Regions from separate parts of the Homo sapiens genome. Here regions 2, 3 and 4 are each linked to region 1. Evidence: promoter capture Hi-C in 16 types of primary human blood cells and fetal thymus (Javierre and others, 2016). All regions are on one chromosome and are shown on one strand. The core of a region is centred on a gene start or on the middle of the fragment in contact, and the rest is flanking DNA. Distances in the headings are between cores, read along the strand shown.

Evidence for each region. The method cuts DNA at HindIII sites, captures the fragments that hold promoters and counts their contacts. A CHiCAGO score of 5 or more calls a contact.
Region 2: a fragment that was not itself captured here is called in contact with the fragment with the promoter of ZNF572 in region 1 in 7 of 17 cell types (M1 macrophages, total B cells, megakaryocytes and 4 more); the score reaches 10.5 in M1 macrophages.
Region 3: a fragment that was not itself captured here is called in contact with the fragment with the promoter of ZNF572 in region 1 in 1 of 17 cell types (M1 macrophages); the score reaches 5.0 in M1 macrophages.
Region 4: a fragment that was not itself captured here is called in contact with the fragment with the promoter of ZNF572 in region 1 in 2 of 17 cell types (M1 macrophages and erythroblasts); the score reaches 5.7 in M1 macrophages.

What each region holds. Positions count from the first base shown.
Region 1 is chr8:124,971,822-124,974,759 of GRCh38, reverse strand. ZNF572 (zinc finger protein 572) reads right to left here and starts at 1,465. Exons shown (of 3, transcript NM_152412.3): 1 at 1,344-1,465. RefSeq lists an enhancer at 1,363-1,522. The HindIII fragment of the contact is 4,233 bases long and covers 1-2,938 here.
Region 2 is chr8:124,738,940-124,741,877 of GRCh38, reverse strand. The region is part of intron 2 of LOC105375741 (a long non-coding RNA gene); the gene reads right to left. Among named protein-coding and RNA genes, the nearest start is that of MTSS1, 12 kb to the right of the region's middle. The HindIII fragment of the contact is 3,547 bases long and covers 1-2,938 here.
Region 3 is chr8:124,766,637-124,769,574 of GRCh38, reverse strand. No RefSeq gene overlaps it. Among named protein-coding and RNA genes, the nearest start is that of MTSS1, 40 kb to the right of the region's middle. The HindIII fragment of the contact is 1,468 bases long and covers 801-2,268 here.
Region 4 is chr8:124,821,205-124,824,142 of GRCh38, reverse strand. MIR4662B (microRNA 4662b) reads left to right here and starts at 2,085; the gene lies at 2,085-2,165. MIR4662A (microRNA 4662a) reads right to left here and starts at 2,158; the gene lies at 2,092-2,158. The HindIII fragment of the contact is 3,492 bases long and covers 1-2,938 here.

The DNA of each region.
Region 1 (2,938 bases), core at 216-2,715:
AGATCGTGCCATTGCACCACTCCAGCCTGGGTGACAGAGCAAGACTCTGTCTCAACAAAAAAAAAGAAAAAAGAAAAAGAAAAAGAAGAAAATGTGATCTATCACAGGAAGGCAGTGACATATGGACTTTTGGCATCCATTTCAGAATATAAAGAGTATCATTATTTGGGAGAAAAATAAGGACGTAAAAGGATATACAAATGCACACATTTTAAAAACAAAAAATAGTATATGTACTTATATTGTATCTTCACCATTACTGCCTATTATGTGCCAGGTAGTGAATGAAATAATTTGCACACATTTGTCATTTAATTCTTACAGTAGCCCTCTGAAGTGTATGAACAACTACCAGCATTTTATAGGATGAGTTTGAAAGGTATTAAGAAACTTTCCTAAGGTCACCTAGAAAGTGGTAGAGCAGGACTGAGCTCCAAGTCTGTTTGGATGCTGACCTTTTTCACCCTCTGATCTATTATCGTAAACTAGAACAGGAAGCAGAGCTGGGCATAATCCCAAACTGCAAAGAATCCTCAGAGTCCCTTTATTTTAGAATATTTAGAATACTGGCATTTTAAAACAGAGGTCTACATTCCTAAACCTTGTTAACAAAGTGAGTCGACATTCCCTAAGCACACTCAGCAAGTGGGGATTTGTTCTAGAGAAACGTGAAACTAGTCTACATTACTAATATCCCCAGTGTTTGAGTTGGGGGGGAGAAAAAACCATACACCTGAATGCAAAAAAAGGAAGGGGGTGGAGTTGTTCGAATGGAGTTATATATTTTGCTGTCCTAAGTTACATATTGTTATCAAAGTATTTACAAAAGCAGCAAGAGTCTGGGCAACACATTACCATCTCCCCCATTTTCCCTACTAAAATACTATTAAATTTGGCAGCAAAGGAGCCCCCGGAACAGTGGCTCAGCAAAATGGTGGCAAATGCAAGACCATACAAGGCTGCCATTAAGATGTCTCTCCACGGGGAAGGAGTGTTTTCACTGTTCTAGAGCAACAATGTGATCAGAGTGGGGCCGTGCTTTGATCAGAAAGCCTTCAAAGAAAATGCACTGCCTGAAGCCTAGTTTTAAGAACCGCTGGCTGGTACAAGTTGGAGACGCTGGGGGGTGAAGTTCCAGGATACCAGACGGTCTCCGGCCGACAAGATCCCGTAAGGGACCCCGCGGACAAGGATGACGGTGGCCCGTCGGCGGGAGATGCTGGGCCTTCGCCCCTGGCAGCAGCGGGAACTCTCTCCCGGACGTCCACTGCAGCCTGGACGGGGCTGTTTCCACTCCTCTAGCCCGCAACCCTCGGCTCCCTTCCCCCCAAGAAGGAACTCACTGTTCTGGGTGCTACACCCAAGGCGCCCTGCACCCCCAGCGGTCCGGGAGGAAGGTACCCCCTCTCCCTCTGACCCCACCAACCCAGGGTCCTAAACTCTCAAACCCGGAAGGCAGAAACAGGAAGTTACCCTCATCTCCCCCGGCGGCTTTGCTGGGGCCGTTCTAGGAAACAGTGATGGCCCACTCTCGTTGATCTTAACCCTTAGGGTCCTGGACCAGAAGGAGCGTGGGGGTGGATTTCCTTTCCCTGTGCTGTGACCAGCCAACTGTGAACCTCATTTCTCTCACTTGTCAGGCGGCTTACGACAGGGGCCTGATTGGAGCTTATACTTTTCCTTGCCATCAGAATATCATCAGATTAATTATCATCACTATTAGAATCAAAATCAATCTAGTATTTTTCTTTTTTGAGACGGAGTCTCGCTGTTGCCTAGGCTGGAGTGCAGTGGCGCGATCTCGGCTCACTGCAAGCTCCGCCTCCTGGGTTCACGCCATCCTCCTGTCTCAGCCTCTCGAGTAGCTGGGACTACAGGTGCCTGCCACCATGCCCGGCTAATTTTTATATTTTTCGTAGAGACGGGGTTTCACCGGGTTAGCCAGGATGGTCTCGATCTCCTGACCTCGTGATCCGCCCACCTCGGCCTCCCAAAGTGCTGGGATTACAGGCGTGAGCCACCGCGCCCGGCCTCAATCTAGTATTTTTAAACACCTATTGTTTCTGTTCCCACCGCTATGAACATGGATATATATTTACTTACCTGTGAAAGTTAGAAAGCTAAGGCATCCATTCACATATAAAACAATTCGTTTACAAGGCACCCTTATTAACACCTAGAAAAGTAGTTAATCCCTCCTCTTTCATTACAGAGAAAATAGAAGCCAATCCCTTCATCTCACCTCTACCAAACAGAAATCTACTCAAGTCTGCACCCTGCCGTTTTCTTTCTTCCCTCCTGTTACAATACAGAGTCCCTCTGTGACCTTTTTTTTTTTTTTTTTTTTTTTTGTGATGGAGTTTCACTGTGTCACCAGTCTGGAGTGCAATGGCAGGATTTCGGCTCACTGCAACCTCTGCCTCCCGGGTTCAAGCAATTCTCCTGCCTCAGCCTCCCAAGTAGCTAGGACTACAGGTGTGCGCCACCATGCCCAGCTAATTTTTGCATTTTTAGTAGAGACTGGGTTTCACCATGTTGGCCAGGATGGTCTTGATCTCTTGACCTCATGATCTGCCCGCCTCAGCCTCCCAAAGTGCTGGGCTCTTTGGTATTTTAATAAGCCCTTTACTGGTACTCACTTTCCTACCTATCTTCTTGGAAACTTCGCACTACCAACTAAACTCTCCATCCCTCCACCCCCATCCCCAAATAGTCCCTCAGCTTTTCTTTTCTCTTTTTACTCACAATGTTTCCATTTCATCAATTTTCCACTAACCTTAACATTTCTCCTGCAACAACAACAACAAAAAAATCACTAGCATCACCAATGACCTCCATGATGTTAGTTAGTGCAACTGGTATTTTTAGTTCTCGGGTCCTTTTTCAGGAGGTTTGATATGGCTACGGACTCGTCTTCTAGAAACACTCTTTTGAGGTG
Region 2 (2,938 bases), core at 312-2,811, 230 kb after region 1:
CCTCCTTCCATTTCCCTAAGTCCTCTCAGGGGATAAAGCTGACTGCTAGGTGGTAGTGGGAAAGGGCATGTAGAGATAAGAGAAGGAAAATTCTCGATAAAATAGAGCCTCATGTCTAGTTTACATGCATAGCTGCTCCTGGACAGCTATTCCCTCTCCTCTCCAGCCTGGTTCCCAGCTCCGCTCCACAGGTTCTCTCCTTTCTTTCCTTTTCTAGAAAGTTCTTGTTCTGCCTCACTATTCCCACCACACATAGCCTTTTGGTTCTCTATGTCTGCACTGCATAATCTAACACAGTGGCTCCCAATGTGCTTTTTAAATATGAGGCCATCTTTAACCATTTAAAATTGTATTTATCTGTATAAAACTAAAACATACTTGTAAAAATAATACAAATATTTTGCCAGGCATGGAGCAGAGTCCTCAGTCAGTATGCATTTCTTCTCCAGGGTAAAACAGAGTCCAGTAAGGTGGTTTTAGCTGTGATGCACTGGGGAGATGGTGCTGTGTGTTGTCAAGAAATTTAGAATTAGAAGTTTTGGGTTCTGGTAATATTTCTGCCACTTACTAGTTGTATGCCTCTGAGAAGTCCACAGCTCCAAGCCTGTTTCTGCTCCTGGAATGTAAGTCCAGTTGAGCCCTTTCACAGCCAACCCACCCCCGTGTCAGTGTGAGATCTGCACAGTATCTGCGAAAATGCTTCATAAATTATCTAGAGTTATGCAAATGTGAGTATTATGGGGATTACAGTATGTTATTGCCTGGAATCATGCTTCCAGTATTTTAAAGAATCCATTAATGGGATGCTCTTAAATTTTTTTTTTCCTGGCATTATTCTCAGCCAGGCTGCAACAAGGAGTCTTACTTGATCAGTATGGCCTTTACTTAGGTATTTACTTAGCTTTTAGGTCTTTAAAGCAGCACATGATTTTCAAGTGAGTTATTCAATTAATCGTTTCTGTATCACTCTGATGCCCCTTTGGACTGTCTGCTTATTGAAAGCCGTCCCATCTGGAGGGACTGCCCTAACTCCCTGCTCATCCTGCAAACAGATCAAATGGCCTCCAGGGGAAATCCCAATTAATGGCAAAATCAATTAGTCACAAGTTGGGAAGAAAGAGAGAGCCAAATGGTTACCCAACACATAATGTACCTTCCTTTACACAATGTGTGGTCCAGTAATGCATCTAGATGGGATTTCTACAAATTGAATCAAAACGAAGGAGATTGCTATTTAAAGGACCCCTGGGGGGAATTATCTGATAAAAGATCTTTCCATATTCATGAATGAGTCTCTAGAGAGAACTGCTATTTCTAAATTTGTATTCTTAAAATCCAGTTTTCAAATTATTATTATATTAAAACAGTTTCTATAATGATAATAGTCATAGAGATCCAATGACTAAAAAGTACATGAATTGTGTGGCTATAGGTATTTCTCCTCTGGGAGTTAAAGTTTAAAGAGAGATGGTACCTTGATGATAGGTCCTTTATACAAGGACCTTCCTTGTATACAAGTCCCTTCCTTCACTTTGACAAAGGAAGAAAAATTTCAACTCATGCTAAAGAAAATCTCAAACAATTAGTTATAATCAATAAAGGAATGGGTTGCCCTTTGAAGTATTAAGCTGCCTGTCAGAAAAAAATTTACATTATAAAGAACAACTTTGTGGAAATCTGTTTTCATTTTATGATTAGTCTTGAATTTGTTCTAGAAAATACACATCTGTGGAGGTGTGAGATGGGAAGCCCTCTCCTATTTCAACAGGTTTATGTTAAAATAGCTTTAGTGTAAAATAAATATAAACAACAAGTTCTGGGGGAGAGGAACTGTCCCAGTGGCCATTGGGAAGAAGAATAGGTTGCAGCCACCTGCTTTGTCTACTGATGCGGGTCTCCTGCTGTTTGTATTTATAGACACATCAAGGCAGGGACAGGGTATCAGAGCACGTGGGGGAAGATGAAGCATCACCTGAGAAAGGCCTTTCTTCTTTCACCATGAATGCCTCCTTGAGTCACTGCCTGGAGCCAACAGCACCATCCCTTCCTTAATCTCTTTTCCCAACTGTTTCTGCAACACATAAACATGCACATACACACAGAGACAGACATATATGTCTAGATATCTAAAACAGACAAAGAACCCAGAGAGAGCTTAAAATCAGGTCTGCAGGTCAGCCAGACTCATATGGAAGACATCACGTGGAAGGGACCAACCCTCTCATTTTACAAATGAGGAAAGCGAGGCACAGAGAGGCTAATGTGACTCACCTGCCACTCAGGTGGGCAAGTCATTTCTTTTCCCTCCATCTCCTGATGTGCATCACAGCATCTTCCTGCCTTGAAGACAGGGAGCCAGGGGTGTTGTGCTCATTAGTCGGGTAATGGCTGCCACCACCTTTGAAGCTGCTGGATAGGATCCCAGGTAAATAGCATTACCCCCTGCAAATGAAATGGTTCCCTGTACACAACCTGTTTTCACTTGTTGCCTGTGGCCGCTGGCCACTTGTGGCTGGAAAGATTACTACTGAACTCCAGGTCATAAGCCTCCATCTGCTCACAACCTTCAGAAAATAGGAGGGCTGGGTCTGGTTCTTATTATTAAAAGCAAACAAACCCATTATTAAAAGTAAACAAGACAGAACTGCTTTGAAACAATTGACTAAATGTCTCCTGGCTCAGAAGCCTAAATTCACCCCTATTAGCCCAAACCAAGCCTTCCTTAGTGAGAATCTAGAGAGGAAAGCTAAAAGTTTCTTGTTAAAAAGAATCCCCCTGCCCCCCTGCCCCCCTGCCCCCAACACCACCATTCTCTTGGGCATTCAGTAACTGCTGCAGGCTAAGCTCATTAACCATATTATCTTTAATTCTCAAGATTTTGAAATGAGCATTACATTTTGTATGTTATGCAATGGGATGGGCCAGTCAAGTAATTTGC
Region 3 (2,938 bases), core at 285-2,784, 210 kb after region 1:
ATATTTGTGGTATTAAAATTCAGGGGAATGTGATTAGGAAAAAATGTCTAAAAGACTCATTAGGAGGTGATAATGAAAAAGATTAAGAAACATTGAATTTAAAGCAAGAGACCACAGGAAGGTAGAACATAAAAATTAAAAACAGATGAGAAAAACAGAAAACAAATATTAAAATAGTAGGCCTAATTTCAAATTTGATGTATAGATAATTACATTAAACATTAGTGGATTAAACATAATGCCAAAAGGCTTGACATACCTGTAAGTAATGTGAAGTGGACTGAGTTTGAGCTTTAGAGTAAGACAGGACCATATTTGGATCCCGGCTCAATCACTAAAAATGTATAATGGAGATACAGGTAATAGCACTGCCTTCATGGGATTAAATGAGATTATCTGTGTCACATGCTTCGTATAGTGACTGATGTCAAGTGCTCAGTAAATATCAATCCTCTCTCTTATCATCTAACATAACAATAAAGGAGACAGTGGGCAATTTCTCTAGCTTGTATTGGCATAGAAAAGCTGAGCTCATTTAAAAGAGGAGTTGATAAATTATGTTGACAGACAAAATCTAGACTGCCACCAACTTTTGCAATTAAGCTTCATTGGCACCCAGCTACATCTATCCATTTATGGTTTGTGTATGGCTACTTTTGTGTAAGACGGGGCAGAGACCAGTTCATAAAGCCTAAAATATTCACTATCTGGCCCTTTGTAGAAAAAGTTTTCCCGCCTTGTTCTAGAACATGATGGAATTTTACTTCCAAACTTCCAGCCTAGTTTCTATTTTTGAAGCTTTTTACGCCAACTTTTTGCATTAATACTTTTCATTTGTTTCACTTTAGATTAATCTATTTATAACCCCCAAATACTCAGGATTAAGATATTCACTAGGAGACGATTGCAATCTACACTTGCTCTCTGATGTTCTACCCCCAAAGCCCTCTGACTTTCTTTGTAGCCTTTTACTGTGATAGCTCTAAAAATCTCAATGGAAGAATTGTCTGAGAGTCACTAAAATCCACTATCTTGCTCCACTGTTAAAGTCATGAACACTTTTGCGTGTATTAGCTTCAGAACCTTCACACGCATGTTCTTACTTGTTATCCCTATTTTGCAGATGAGAAAACTGAGGTTCAAAGAGGTTTGGCCACTTGCCAAACAGTAGTCAGTGGAAGAGTATTCTGACACCTCCTCTGATACTCCAACTATCATATCACTTTGTGTACAATCTATTCCCTGATGTTTCTAGTTTTGTTGGGGAAGAATCAAAGTACATAGCAAGTATGAAGGTAGTCCAAAATCTGACATTAATAAGTAAACAAGGAGTATGGAAACTCAGAGATAGAGGCTCCATAGAATTCTAAAAAGAACTGAGGCCTTTAAGTAATTAGAACTATTAGATCTGGCTTGCATGCTTTAAAAATTTACAAAAGCAGGAAGCATGGAATGCAAACCTATTAACTTGGCACGATAAACAACACTTGAACAAACTACCCTTGTGTGATACTAGCACTCAGCAAATTTAACTCATCATTCTGAAGGCCCACAAAGTGCCAAGCTCTATGTTAACACCCGGGGAGAGAATGGCCATTGTCTGGAGTCCTCTGCCAAGGGCACAATTCTTGTCAGGTGGCTCCTTCTCTCCAGTTCAGGAAAGCGCTGCTTACCCTGATGTCTTCAGACCTAAGGGTGGAAGCAGCTCCCTGCTGTTGCTAGCCCCCAGGGTTTCGCCAGCCTTCCTCAGTTTACCTGAAAATCTCCCACACATTTGAACTGATCCCTTATTAAACTCCCCACAATAATGCCTTTAGAATGGGCCATCTGTCTCCTGTGGGGATCCTAGGATACACTCTTAGAGAAATCCTAATAGCTACACCCTGTACTGTTTATGAATATGGACTTTGGAGTCAAACAACTCTGTATTTGAATCCCAGTTTCACTACATACAGATCCCTATGTGGACTAGGGCCACTTACCTAACCTCACTGAGACACAATTTCCACATTTATTTAATGAGGATAAGAATACTTACTGCATAAGTGTTATAAAGAAGGAATAAGATCATATATGGGAAATACTAAGTACTCAATCAATGGCAGCTCTCACAGGTATCCTAATTGCGGAGTGGGGAATGGGGACAAGTTAAGCAACAGAAACAGGGAAGTGTGAAGACACATGTACCCTGGTGCCTCCTGTGGTGAGGACTAGGCTATCAATGAAGAAAACCCTTCCAGGGACCCAGCAGGACGGTATCCCAAAGCTTCCCTGGCTCCTTGGAACTGCTGCAAGACTTTCAAAATAATAGCAGGAAAGAAAACCATTTGTCTCTTTATTTTTATTTTTTATTTTTTTGGGATGGAGTCTCGCTCTTTCACCCAGGCTGGAGTGCAGTGGTGTGATCTCGGTTCACTGCAAGCTCCGCCTCCCGGGTTCACACCATTCTCTTGCCTCAGCCTCCCCAGTAGCTGAGACTACAGGCACCCGCCATGATGCCCGGCTAATTTTTTGTATTTTTAGTACAGATGGAGTTTCACCGTGTTAGCCAGGATGGTCTCTATCTCCTGACCTCGTGATCCGCCCACCTCGGCCTCCCAAAGTGCTGGAATTACATGCGTCAGCCACCGCGCCCGGCCTTGTCTGCTTTTTTTTTTTTTTTCCATCAGTGTGAGACCACAGAACCCACCTTCCCAGCATCCTCCTCTTTGCTCTCTCCCCAAGAGTCACAGCTTGCGAGGCTTCTCAGGTGCACGTTCTCTAATTGTGCAGAGTGAGTGGCCTGTTCTGAAAACACAGGGCAAGAGAGAGCAGACTGTGTCCAGGCAAGCAGTCAACTTCTCCATGGAAATGCCAAGGTCAAGGTAACCCAGGGCAAAAGAACAGTCGAGGTTGGAGTCAGAAAGAAGAGAGAGCAGCACTAGCCCTTCTGCTGGTA
Region 4 (2,938 bases), core at 142-2,641, 150 kb after region 1:
ATGAGAAAGTGGCCCAACTGGGGCTTGAGCCCAGGTCTCCCGCCCTCCATGCTGGTGTGCCTTGGTAGGAGTGTGGACCTGAACTACAACAGGTCATTCACCCAGGCCCCCAGCTCTCCATCCCACAAATGGGCAGGGAAAGGCAGGGAGGTATAAAACACCGGCTTCCTACCTTCTGCTTCGATCCACAGAGAAGACTTAGGCCAGAGTGGCCCTGCACGTCCGCCTTTCCCCTCTCAGGGAGTCCCTCTTTCTGGGTTTGAGTCTTGCCAGTCCGAAACACGTGCGAATAGAATCCCAAAAGCACAGGGCCCAGGCTTTTTTCTGGGCGATGTGCTGTTTTTTTTTTTATATCTCAGACTATGGCTGTTACTGTCCATGGGCTCAACTAATGCAGAGAATTGTAGGACATCTAGCCCTGCTCCTAAAGGAGGCAAAATGATCCTTATCATGCCTGTTATAGCCAAGGAAGGCTGGACCCAATTCCACAGAACTCGAGATGGCGCTTTTCATTTCAAAGAAAAGACACTATGAGCCTTTCTCATATTTCACAGCATGCTGTGTGTTGCACTTGACCTCTACTCTTGCCCTCAGCTTCCCCAGGTGGCCTCGCCTCCCTGCTGCAGCCCCAAAGCAGTAAAGCTACAGCTCTGGGCCATGGGCTGTGGCTTCAGTGATCTAGGACCTGATTCTCCTAAAAACCACAAATGGATAGTTCTTCCAAAGACCCAGGGTCCTCATAGAACTCTCTAGAAACAGTAATGATCTCCTTGGAGCTCAAACAGTCCCTGAGCTATCAGACCCTGCCAACACCAGGGCTTAATGCTCAGGGAACACATTTTATGAGAGCAACTGTCACTCCTGAGCTTCTGTGGGTCACTTGAAATCACCCAGTTATTTTTCACTCAGCTGAGGGGCAGTATAGTTCTGACGGGTGGCTTTGGGTTCACTGCCTTCAACTCCAGTCAGAAAACGTTAGTGCTGAAATGGATCCGGGGTACAAATAGTTGGGTTGTTGACATGCTTTCTTCTGTTGTATACATAAAGGTTCCACATACAAAAACCTATTTGCAAAGAGAGGTCAGATGCTTAAATGTGAATAATAAAAATGCTTATCCATGGGTACTCTAGTTTAATCTCCTCATTACAAGAGGAATCTGAGGCCCAGAGAGAGAAAGTGACTTGTCCAAAATCATACAACTAATATTGCAGCCAGCAATAGAACAAAGAGAGCTCAGGAATTCTGGGTCCCAGTGACTATGGAAAACAATTGTCTGAAATTTTACCACTAGAAATTGCTACTCCCTGCCCCATACTACCTGAGTCTTATTTAGGTAAACAGATAGTAAATATAAACATTATCATTGTAAAAAAATGTTTTAAAGACCAAATATATTTATAAAGTTTTTTAAAGTGATCTTTTGTACCCCTTTGTACTCTACCCAATCCCATTCATTTCCCGAAGGATGTCCGATGTTAACAAATGAGTGTCAAGTCCTTCTAGGCCTTTTTCTATGCACTTAGGAATGTGTTTACAATATATGACTGGGTTTTAAAAATACATACTTATATACTATATGTATGTAGATATAAGTATAAATTTATAAGCCATATTTATATATTATGCCATTTATAAATATAAAATCAAATTGTTCTGTTTTGAGACTTCCTTTGTTCACCTAACCTTGTGTCTTGGCACTTTTTCTCTCTCTTTTTTTTTTCTTTTTGAGATTTTGCTCTTGTTGCCCAGGCTGGAGTGCAATGGCACAATCTCAGCTCACTGCAACCTCCACCTCCCAGATTCAAGCGATTCTCCTGCCTCAGACTCCTGAGTAGCTGGGATTACAGGTGCCTGCCTCCATGCCCACCTAATTTTTGTATTTTTAGTAGAGACAGGGTTTCGCCATGTTGGCCAGGCTAGTCTCAAACTCCTGACCTCAGGTGATATAACCATCTTGGCCTCCCAAAGTGCTGGGATTACAGGTGTGAGCCACCGTGCCCATCCATGGCACTCTTTCCATGTTGGTCAATAGAATCTTGATGTTTTGTCGATGGCTTCATGGTATTCCATTGTATGGATGTACCACAATTTCTATTTAGCCAATTGTCTATCTTTAGGCATTCAGAATAGCTAAAGATGGACAATTGGCTAAATAGACACTGTGGTACACAATGGCTTTTTCTGTTGCAGCCATGGTTGCAGTAAACTTCCTTGTATATAAATCTCTGGGACATGAGCCAATGTTTCTTCAGAAGAGATACCTAGAAGTGAAGATGTGAGATCATTTGTCTACAGAAGGTTTCACTTTAAGTTGTAATGACTCGCCTTAATGTTGTCCAAAGGTTGTTTTTCTAAACCTTATTTGAGGGCCCACAACAGCCATAAACTTTTACTTATGTTTCACCTAGAATCATCACAGCAATCCTGTGAAAGCAAAGTATGATCCCTATTTTTCAAAAAAACTCACTGAAGTAGGAACAGACGAAAAATATCTCAATTTGTGAAAAAGCATTTACAAAAAAAAAAAAACATCTAACATCATACTTAATGGTGCCAACTGAACGTCTTCCCACTGAGATTGGGAATAAGACAAAGATGTCTGCTTTCAACATCTTCTTCAACAGGGTAGTAGAAGTTCTAGCCAGTGCAATATAGCAAGAAAAAGAAATACAAGACATACAGATTGAAAAGAAAGAAATAAAATCATCTCTATTTGCAGATAACATGATTGTCTATTTATACAATCCTAAAGAATCTAAAAAACATAAACTAAAATAAACCTCCTAGAATTAATAAGTGAATTAAGTAAGGTCACAGAATACATGATCAACACTCAAAAATCAAATGCATTTGTTTATCCTGTCAATGAACATGGGGAAACTGAAATTAAAAACAATACCATTTACAATCACTTCAAAGAAAATAAAATACTTAGGT